Linked DNA regions of Homo sapiens: all the other regions are linked to region 2. Evidence: promoter capture Hi-C in 16 types of primary human blood cells and fetal thymus (Javierre and others, 2016). All regions are on one chromosome and are shown on one strand. The core of a region is centred on a gene start or on the middle of the fragment in contact, and the rest is flanking DNA. Distances in the headings are between cores, read along the strand shown. Region 1 has its middle 31 kb from the start of HMCN1. Region 2 holds the start of PRG4 (proteoglycan 4). Region 3 overlaps PLA2G4A (phospholipase A2 group IVA). Region 4 overlaps LINC01350 (long intergenic non-protein coding RNA 1350).

Region 1 (2,700 bases), core at 42-2,541, 590 kb before region 2:
GGACACAATGCACTTAAGAGGGATTTTTTTTCCCCTTCACAACAGTAGTAAGTTCCGTAATAGAGTCAGGCATTAGAGAGTGATAAATTACTGATACACTCTTAAATGAAAATAACTATACAGTAACTAAAGCTGAAATGTTACCAATGTTAAGCTTAGAGTTATTTATTTTGGACTTTGGACAAAAGTCATAATAAACTTTTATGAATCAATTTATAAAATTGGACAATTCTTAGCTAATGTGCATTTCACATTTCTTGAGATCTTAGGCTTAATGCTTAAATTTTAAAAATTGAAACTCAAATCGGCTTCTAAAAGTCCACACCACCCACATTTTTCAGGGCCTATAAACAATAATACATCATTGAATTAATATTAATACTGACATTATGCAAACATTATTTTGAAACATTTATTTCAACTGAAGAGACTTTACAGTTTGCTTAGGGAACATTCTTCTTCAACAGTTCAACCCTAATCCTCTCTTATTGTCATCCTATATAATTGTCAATGAAAACATTTAGCTTAGTGACTTAAAAAAATACTATGAAAAGCCACAGACAGGTATGTAGTATTTTCCATTTGCAGCTAATAAAATATTACAAACGTATTATTAAATCTTTGTACACTCATGAAACAGAATTATTGTGACAGCCAAAATTTAATTTCAATTCTAGACAGAGTATCTTGAATTTACAAGCGAGTTGCACTGAATCAAAAAGAGTATAAACAGTTTGAAGATAGAGTTTAAAACATAATTATGCAACATTTTTTCTTCAGCTCAGAAGTCTTACCATAACTTGGCTGTAACATTGAAAACAACTACTGCTTATTGAGTGAAAACTACATACTAGTTACCGTATCAGGCAGTTTAAATAACTTAGCCATTTAATCTTTAAAATATATGCTATAGATAGCATCTTTGTTCTCATTTTACAGATGAGGAAGCTGAGGGTCTACAAATTTAATTGATTTGCCCAAAGTTATAAGGCTTGTAAGCATCAGAGCTGGGATTCATGTGTCTAAAGCCTACTAGCAGTGTCAGTAAATGGAAAATATAGGCTAGATCTAGCTACCCCTGCAACTAACTAAATACCTTTCGATTGAGTAGACAATGAAAATTAGTGCTGGAAGAGAGAATTAGTTTAAGTCTTCATTTTGTAAGAGGCAAAGTGACATGCCCAAGACCAAACAACTAGTCATTGGTAAAGCTCTAATTAAGACCCTTAAAACTTGCTTCATTTGGTGTTCTTTTTCTATTCTGTCTGTTAGACAAAAGGAGTTAGCAGCATGAGTAGATCTATCACAGGACATGGTCCTTTCTCCTTAAGTCAAATGAGTTGACCCTATGGACATCCTCTGGCAATTGTTTTCCTCACATTACTTCAGGAATATATTATTTTATGTAATGTGTCCTCTCAAAAAGCTGTCTGTAAGTCATAAAATGGAACTTGCTGGTGTCTTAGAGTTCTACTAGGTCTGCTTCTTTATTCCTTGGATAAGGAAATCCTATCCGAGTGAGATGAATAGGTTTCTCTAAGGTGGCACACTACTAATTGTGCCAAAGTCTTGCTTAATGTACCACACTGCTTTAAGCATTTGTGTTGAGAAAAAGAAAAGTTTAGAGTATTAGGGGGTTTTGCTCCTTAAAAGGTCTTTTATGAATTATTTTTTACCATGGAGAATCCTTCTGTGAAGAGAATAACTTTCCCTTTTATACCTTTTCTGTTCTTACTATTTTGAATCTATAGAATTCATCATATACCTCAACTTTTTTGTCCATGAAAATATGCATCATCTGACTTTGAATAAGTCACACAATAATAAATTCAGATTAGAATTGTCCACACCTTTGTTTCTTCTAAATTTTGGGTATGTAAGCCTCTGATAATTCACATGACTTAATTAAGCAGAAATCTGGCTCCAAGTGTTGCCAGATGGTCACTATATGGATGAGTAAGACATTAACAAGGTGCAAAATGGGCTAAACCAACAAGCCCATTCCTTCAGAGTCCAACTTTGTTGTTTATTTCCCCTGGTGGCAGGAAAACTGGAATGAAACCATATCTCGTATGTGCGATGCTAGCCAGACATTGTGTGCATGTGGTAACAGGAGCCTTATCTCTCAGACCATTAATAAGGATTGGAATAAGCAAAGAAAGGGAAGCCAATAGCAATTGTTAGAGTGATTTTTGAACTCATTACTCATACAGCTGTATAAGAGACTTTAGAACTTCAGCCGACTTATCTTGCTGCAGCAAGTGGCAGTTGTACTTGCTCATGCCAGTGGCCTGAACACAAGAATGCTCAGGTATGAGAAAACACATAGAAAAGGCTGCTATAAGAGATTAATTAGAAAGTGATCATTCATGTTGCTAAATAATTTTTCACTTTCTAAAATATTAACTATGGTAATTATTTTTTCTACTAAGCTTTCTCAAAGCTACTAACATAATTTTAAGAAAATGAAAACCATGAGTTGCATGCAAATATAAAATAAACAAGTCAAAGATTCTATTCAGCTTATCTATTAAAGAAGGAATCAGTAAGATGTTTATGCTGGTTGCAAAAGCATTTGAGGACTTAGGCATTTATAAGCAATTTAATAAAGGAATGTCAGGATAAGATTGCTACACTGCATTAAAAAATTCTGGTTAATATCCTACAGGATACCATTACCTTTGGGATAATCTGTTCCAC
Region 2 (2,818 bases), core at 231-2,730:
AGATCCTTGGATGGGTCACACATTCTTCATTTGTGGGTCTTCATCTTCTTATTTGTAAATGTGGATGATTATATTTAACTTTAAGACATTTTGTGAGAATTAAATGCAGTACCTACCAAATGAGTAGTAGACAGCAGAATCCAGCCTACAACCATGTGGTTCACTGAACATGTTTTCTTTTTTTTCTTTTCTTTTTTTTTTTTTGAGACTGAGTTTTGCTCTTGTTGCCCAAGCTGGTGTGCGGTGGCGTGATCTCAGCTCACTGCAACCTCTGCCTCTCAGGTTCAAGTGATTCTCCTGCCTTAGCCTCCCGAGTAACTGGAATTACAGGCGCCTGCCACCACACCCGGCTAATTTTTTGTATTTTTAGTAGAGAGGGAGTTTCACCATGTTGGTCAGGCTGGTCTCAAACTCCTGACCTCAGGTGATCTGCCCACCTCAGCCTCCCAAAGTGCTGGGATTGCAGGGGTGAGCCACTGCACCCGGCGTGAGCATGTTTTAAACATATAACATTGGTGAAACAACTGGGCTGTATGTTGGCAATAGACTAACATATAGGTGTTGGTTGTCCTTAGGGAAATCATAGTCTGTTGGGGGTGTGAGACAGATGAAGAGATATTTTAGTAAAACGTAGTACAATTGTTTACTATAATTCTAGATGTGATTGGAATTTGATCTGGAAAGGTTTCAGGGAGGTGCTAGGACATGAGCGAAGCCTTATGTTGGTGGGTAAGATTTTACACCGATACATTCCGTATGAAAGTGGGGTAAAGCCTTGGGCTGAGCTGACTTAGCTCTGCAATGGTGATGGTTCACATTTTCATTGTGGGAAGGAAACAAAATTAGTAATTTAAAAGACCTTTTCCAAACATGCTTATCTTAAAGGAAGGATCTAAGGAAAATATCAATACATTTTTTAAGCAGATTTTTAAAATAATAAAGGAAGCTAGAAAATCCAGTGTCAATAATCTACCTGTAGGTAACTGAGAGCATGTTTTCTGTGCTCAGAGAAAATGAAACTACTCAAGAAATGTATATTTGATATAATGGTATAAGTATATAAAATGTATGCCACAAGCTAACACTAGGTAAATTTCAAAGCTACCTTTGCTAGATTTAACTGGAAAGCAGAAGAAATAAATGATACCAGTATGTGAATATTTTAAAGTTGCTGCTTCAATATACTAGTCAAAGTCTGCCAGAGCTATTTACCATCTCAGGACAATTTGTTCACTTCACTTAGAAATTAGAAATGTGCTCTGGCCAATACATCTAAATTTATTTTGTGGTAGTCATTTTGCTTAATGGAAGTGTTTTCCAGATGTTGCCTAAGTCTAGTCGTCTGGGCCCTTTTCCAATAAATGAGGAAAGTTTGATTTCATAGGTTGTCACTGTTGATTTTGTCTAACCTTTGGACTAATTGGTTCATCCCACTGTATTTGCACTGATATATAAGACTCCCAGGACGTGGGATAAACTCATCTATCCTTTACGGGTAAGTGTCAAAGTTAACTTGCTTCATAGAATTAAATGTGTTTTCATTAGAGGTGTTTGAAAAAAAATGTGTAAAGATAGTAGTTGGAAATTTTTGAAAAGGATTATGTTTATGCAATACACCTGTTGGAAGCCTTTGAATTTATATTGAGAATTAAGAAAAAGTTGGAACAGTAACTCCATGATGCTTATTAAATTACATTTCTGTGACACAGGTTATTATTTTCCTTAAGATAAAATTTTAACCTTGCACTGTTAAGTACATGCCATACTTTGGCTAGAGTTTTAAGATAAGTCTATTCTATATTGGAGATTTCTTAAGAATTAAAACTGTCAATAACGTGGCTGAGGGTGACTTGATTTGTTCTGCATAAGATTAAGTCTAATGGCCAAATATTTTCTATAAAATTAAAGCTGATTTAAAGTCTTGTTTCAAGAATGGGATGGTTTTATTATTGTTACATTTTTAAAGTTACTGAAATGTGTATAATGCAAGCCTAAGTTAGTGGTGAGATGAAAGAGCTGTTTTCTGATACTTTTATTTTATTTTCAGCAAGGGTACCTACGGTACCTGAAAACAACGATGGCATGGAAAACACTTCCCATTTACCTGTTGTTGCTGCTGTCTGTTTTCGTGATTCAGCAAGTTTCATCTCAAGGTAGCTTAACCATCGAACATACTTTTATTTAACAACTATTGCTAATCATTCAGTCTTGATTTTTATAACAACGGAAATATATTTCTAAAAATTTATATTTGCTTGAGTTTAATATACTGTACAACCTTAAAATAATATATAACATGTAGCCTGTTTGTAAGTGCTTTGGAATTCTCATCTTTTTCTCCTTTTGAGAGTTTTGAGCTTGTATAAAGAATAATTTTGGTACTTGTTATTTCTATGGTTCTCTCGAAAGTTTAAAAAGTGCAGACAGTTCATCATAAAATTATGCTGGAGCTATATAGTATCATAAAAATAACTAAAAAAGAACAATATTTAGATAACATGTAATTTTTGCCTATATGTTGAACAATTTGTTTTTTAAAATCAAATAAATTATTGATAAATAACTTATTTTGGCATCATTTAGACATAGATACCATATTATAATAAACTATAGTGTTTCAAATGGCATTTTATTAGTCTTGAAAATGTTCTCTTTTTCTTACAAGAACTATTTATCCAGGTATGGACATATACAGATGTGACTGTCATTTTGTGTTATAACATTAAACTTTTCACAGTTCTCCCAAAACAGGTCCTGGATGAATAGTTCTTGTTACTCATTTTTAGAGACTGTTAAAGTACATTCAGTGAAATCACAT
Region 3 (2,700 bases), core at 196-2,695, 690 kb after region 2:
TATTGTCAGTTTAAAAATAACAAGCGTAACAGCTGTTGTAGAATGTTTATGTACCAGGTATTGTGCCAAGCACTTTATAGAAATGATCTCCAATCCCCACAAAACCCCAAATTAGTACATTATTTCCATTTTAAAGAAGAAGAAATGGGCTCAAGTATTGACACTAATTGCCCTCCATCTCACACAGCCAAGAAGTGTTTGTGCCTGGTAGCCTTTGGTCCAAGTCTCCTTCATAGATCTGAAGCATCTTTTGTCATCACAGAATTATGTTTCCCTATTCTTAAGAAAAGTGGGATCAGCAAATATCAGCTTTACCTTAACGGACTCATTCACGTTTGAGCCCATTTCCCGAGAAGATAATTACATATATTACGTTTTAAAATAAGGCATATAAAAGAACCACATTCCTGTGATAGCTCCCTTTTTCCAAAATCTGACTGCGTTTTTAAAGTTACTATTAGAGAATAGAGAGCCTTGCTTGTTGGGTGTCTGGGACATAAAGTCACAGAAAAATAATTGCATGTTTGCACCATTTAGATCTCACATGTTTAAGTGGTGCAAACATGATCTCCTTCAGGCAATGAGCCATGCTTGCCCAGTGAGCTTGCACGTGGTAATGGGAGAATCCCTCTGAGCATGCATCTCCAAGGCCAAGTGGGCCACAGCAGTTGTGAGTGAGAGGAGGCCATAGCGTCCTAAACTGATCAGACTTGCCAAGTATTCCTACCTGTGGCAAGGGGCTGAAAAGCCCGTGGACTGTACCTTAATGTTGCTTAACAATCCCTGAGGTAGAGAATAAAAGGAATTGTGGAATAACTCTGTGACTTGCCTCGGTTTCCTGATGCCCAGAAACATCTATCTCATTGGTCATCGAGATGAAATGAGGACTGTCCTGGGAAATGGAGTCTTCCTGATTTTAACAAGGTTCTGAAGCAGAAGCAGAGACAAGATTTACTATTCAGGCCTTCTTCCAAAGCCCATTTCCACTGCTCTTCAATAACTGCATCTACCAAATTCTGAATGTTCTCTTCTTTCCCCAAATTCTAACTAGGTTAACTTCATACCAAAACCAGTGTATGACAGTTGAAATAGCAGTTCTTAGAGGTTGTAGTTTCCTGTGTTTTCTTCTGGTTACCATTAACATGGGTATATGTAAAGAATATATATTGGATATATGTATGCTGAATAAAAAGTAGTAATTCATTTTCACCAATGAAATCACAGAGCATGATGTTTCCTAGATAGAGGAGGCTCATGTTTTATAACTGTATTGTTTCAGTTGAGGAAGGAAGGCAATTCTCCAGCAATGCCTTCTTCCTCCACTAGGAAAAGCTTTTACTTTCCTGGTGGTCTTTTTCTACTTGCCCACTAATTATAAAGAACATAAATTATAGATTTAGTAATTACTTGTTTCTTCCCTGTTATCCCCCTTTTGGCAAAGAGCAGAACCAACATAATTTTACCATGCTACCACTTTATTCCCAAATTTATCAGCATAAAATCTAGAACATTTCCAGAATCCTTCTTTCCCTGGTGAGGGAAGGAACAGTAGCTGAATATAAGCTTAACAAGAGTGCAGTGGTGGGATGTTGAATTTAAATGTGTATGCATGACTCGTAGATTTCTATTCATATATGTCAAAAGGAATACTCTAATAAAAAGATTCATTTGATTTTTATTTTAATAAAAAATATATAAATGAGTTCATAGCAGCGCTAATTATACAACTTCTGTCTCTATTTGCAGGTGATAAAAGAAGCCATGGTTGAAAGCATTGAATATAGAAGACAGAATCCATCTCGTTGCTCTGTTTCCCTTAGTAATGTTGAGGCAAGAAGATTTTTCAACAAGGAGTTTCTAAGTAAACCCAAAGCATAGTTCATGTACTGGAAATGGCAGCAGTTTCTGATGCTGAGGCAGTTTGCAATCCCATGACAACTGGATTTAAAAGTACAGTACAGATAGTCGTACTGATCATGAGAGACTGGCTGATACTCAAAGTTGCAGTTACTTAGCTGCATGAGAATAATACTATTATAAGTTAGGTTGACAAATGATGTTGATTATGTAAGGATATACTTAGCTACATTTTCAGTCAGTATGAACTTCCTGATACAAATGTAGGGATATATACTGTATTTTTAAACATTTCTCACCAACTTTCTTATGTGTGTTCTTTTTAAAAATTTTTTTTCTTTTAAAATATTTAACAGTTCAATCTCAATAAGACCTCGCATTATGTATGAATGTTATTCACTGACTAGATTTATTCATACCATGAGACAACACTATTTTTATTTATATATGCATATATATACATACATGAAATAAATACATCAATATAAAAATAAGCATGAGATAACTGAGTTTTTTGTTAATTTTTAATGAGATATTGGACTATTGCTATGAAAGATTCTCATATTCACTGCTTTCAAACGCAAAAGTTGTTCATCCTAAACTCAAGTGTGAAACTTTTAATTTAATTTAATTAATTAATTAATTTTTTTGTGAGACAGAGTCTCACTCTGTCACCTAGGCTGGAGTGCAGTGGTGTGATCTTGGCTCACCACAAGCTCCGCCTCCCAGGTTCAAGCGATTCCCCTGCCTCAGCCTCCCGAGTAGCTGGGACTACAGGTGCCCGCCACCACACCCAGCCAATTTTTAGATTTTTAGTACAGACGGGGTTTCACTATGTTGGCC
Region 4 (2,700 bases), core at 134-2,633, 730 kb before region 2:
TACGAGATTGTTTTTATTTAAAGCCCTAGAGATTTAGAGGAATAAACTAGAAGCTTAACTTGAGACTTTCAAAATCCTGAGATCTATCCAGGCATCCATCATACATGACAGAATGATTATACCACCCCCAGAACTAGGTGCTCGATGACGCACTGAGTTAATCTCTTTCTATTCCAATGTATACTACATATATCTTTTATTCAATATATTGAGTACAGAAACTTAAAGCTCAGAACTTTGACATTCTCATGCATTAATTTCTTTTTGTTTAAACAACATAAAGAGATAGTCTTCATTAGAGAGGATCATAATGGACATATGTGGATAGGTTTTCCTGTTGGTTGCTCAAAAAGTAAATAGCAAAAATATGTGTCTCTATGTAAACATATTTTCTGAAATTGGGTCAAAAGGATCAATGACTAGTTTGTGGTGTGTGAGTCCTGTGGACGATGTGTGTACTGACCATTCATGCTTCCAGAGCTTCCTTTCTGTTGATCAGGGATTACGGGAATGATGTTTTAGAAATTTGGTCACCTGGTTTGTAAAGTAAGGTCTTCCTGGGCAGAGTTTTGCTTTTCCCTTTGTCTTCTGAGGTAGATTTATAGGCAGCTCTTGTTATTTACACTAAAGGAAGGAGGAGAGAGAGAGATTTTATAAAATTGGATAATCCTAAAATCATTTGGGGGGTGTTAGAATTCATAGTTTATTTTTTAGATAACAGATATGTTTCCTTAATTCATTTTCTTTGGACTAATTTTAGACATTTATTCCTATTACTTGAACACACAGTGGTAAAAGGCAGCAGAGGCATTTCTGAAGCATGAAGGATCATGGGGGAAAAGAATGAGATTAAAATTTTGCTATGGATATTGCCATGTTGTTCTTACACAGTTAAATAACTTAATTCTGTGAAATTTGCTTACAGTGTTGTCTTTTAAGAAGTTATGTACTGTAAAATATATATGCATATGTAAATTTTGTTTATGTATATTTCTGTAAACATATTTTTATTCCTTTATATATAATATACTTATCTATTATATTCCTGTATATTTTATTATATGCATATCAAAATATATAATTAATAATATGTTATATATAATTAATAATATATGTTATATAACATATAATTGTTATAGTCCTTCATATGTTATTATTATATGAGCTTTATAATAATATATAAAGGAATAAAATAAATAAGGTTCTGGTTCTGCCATTGATTTACTGCATGATCAGTGTGGGCTGGGAGTAGGGTGACCAACCATCCCTCCTTTGCCTAGGACTGAGAAGTTTCCAGGGATGTGGGACTTCCAGTTTTAAAGCCAGGGTGAGCTGTTCAGCTGAGCTCAAGGGAGTAGCCATGGACCAGGCAGGGGTGAGTTTTTTTGGTGGCCCAAGCCAAGTGTATATTGCAAAAATATAGTGAGCAAAATAGTGGGTCAAGAAAAGGGTCAGAGGAGAGTTAAGGGGCAAAGCTGAAGTTCACAGCCACCCAAAGTTTTAGACAATGAAGAGTGTTTCTGCAAGGAGCCAAATGAAATTAGAACAAGCTGGGCCCATTCTAGGTGAATAATGAGGTATGGTTCTCCCAGGAGTTCTAGAATAGTCAGTTGGCTACTGTAAGGGTCTTCTCATTCCGTTCCCTCTGCTGCAGGGACCACCTGCTCCAGGACTTACAGAGCCAATAGAGAAAGTCAGCACTTTCCTTCAGGGAAGTAGATTATTTTCATCGTATGCAAGGGATAAAGTAAACATTGGGGTTTAACAATGAACTTTTGTTTCTTATTTTCATTTTTGAAAAGTACTGAGTATTTAATCTTATGAGTATATAGGAAAATTGGGTGGTATTACATGACACTCCAAAATGCTTTCCCTAAAAGTTACCCTCCCATGGATGAGAGTGGTCTGATGGATAGTGGTGGTCTGTGATTTTACCCTACTCTTTCTCTATGAGAAGAGAGGCTCAAGTTTCCTTCTGGATCTAAATGGGTAGAATATGTGTCCAGCCCCTACGGGGTATATTGCCTCTCTCCATCCTCTGGCAGGAGAGGTGCTACTCTGCACCGTGGTATATTTACTTAGTGTACTATATACGTTAACAAATTTAAAAATGTATAAAGTGGAGATTTATGAATACAGAGAAAATAGGGGTAGGGAAAGAATGGTAAATCTAGAAGTGAATCCACAAAATGCATGCTGAGAGGTTCTGTATGGTGGATGGGCAAGGGCCCCCAGTTGGCTTTGTGCCTAGAGAAAAACATGGTCCAATAAGTGAATCAGTGTCCATAAGATACAACAAGCCAGTGCCAGAAGACAAGCTCAATGCTTCTTTGTATGAAGGCAAGAGGGAAGTTTTTCCAGTGGGTTTTCCTAAGGAGGATACTTCGAAATGTAATGAGCCACATTCTCAATAGTATCTTGACAGGCATTTCATAGAAGTGCTTCCTATAATGTTCCTCAGATAAAGGCTGATGGCATAAATTCACAGCTCAATTCAATAAAAATTCCTATCTTAAATTCTTTACAGAACAAAGTAAGGTATGAATATACACATTTTTAAAAGTCATCAAAAGATGGCAAGAACTAAATGAGACAGTCTAGGTATGAAAATCTCTGCTGGCCTGGAACCACCCAAAGACAGATTTTAGAGTATGCAGTGGAATGTCTGGATTTTCAATCCTTCAGGCAATTCTCCGTAAT

The links. Contacts are between HindIII fragments. The CHiCAGO score rates a contact against its expected background, and 5 or more counts as called.
Region 1: a fragment that was not itself captured here is called in contact with the fragment with the promoter of PRG4 in region 2 in 1 of 17 cell types (M2 macrophages); the score reaches 5.9 in M2 macrophages.
Region 3: a fragment that was not itself captured here is called in contact with the fragment with the promoter of PRG4 in region 2 in 1 of 17 cell types (total B cells); the score reaches 6.1 in total B cells.
Region 4: a fragment that was not itself captured here is called in contact with the fragment with the promoter of PRG4 in region 2 in 1 of 17 cell types (non-activated CD4 T cells); the score reaches 5.3 in non-activated CD4 T cells.

What each region holds. Positions count from the first base shown.
Region 1 is chr1:185,702,253-185,704,952 of GRCh38, forward strand. No RefSeq gene overlaps it. Among named protein-coding and RNA genes, the nearest start is that of HMCN1, 31 kb to the right of the region's middle. The HindIII fragment of the contact is 2,278 bases long and covers 153-2,430 here.
Region 2 is chr1:186,294,799-186,297,616 of GRCh38, forward strand. It overlaps PRG4 (proteoglycan 4), which reads left to right and starts at 1,481. Exons shown (of 13, transcript NM_005807.6): 1 at 1,481-1,495; 2 at 2,048-2,153. The coding sequence starts at 2,078. The HindIII fragment of the contact is 3,679 bases long and covers 1-2,818 here.
Region 3 is chr1:186,986,631-186,989,330 of GRCh38, forward strand. It overlaps PLA2G4A (phospholipase A2 group IVA), which reads left to right. Exons shown (of 18, transcript NM_024420.3): 18 at 1,747-2,351. The coding sequence ends at 1,878. Among named protein-coding and RNA genes, the nearest start is that of LINC01036, 100 kb to the right of the region's middle. The HindIII fragment of the contact is 231 bases long and covers 1,331-1,561 here.
Region 4 is chr1:185,562,705-185,565,404 of GRCh38, forward strand. LINC01350 (long intergenic non-protein coding RNA 1350) reads right to left here. Exons shown (of 4, transcript NR_110793.1): 3 at 464-624. The region is part of intron 1 of LOC107985239 (a long non-coding RNA gene); the gene reads left to right. Among named protein-coding and RNA genes, the nearest start is that of LINC01350, 64 kb to the right of the region's middle. The HindIII fragment of the contact is 2,664 bases long and covers 52-2,700 here.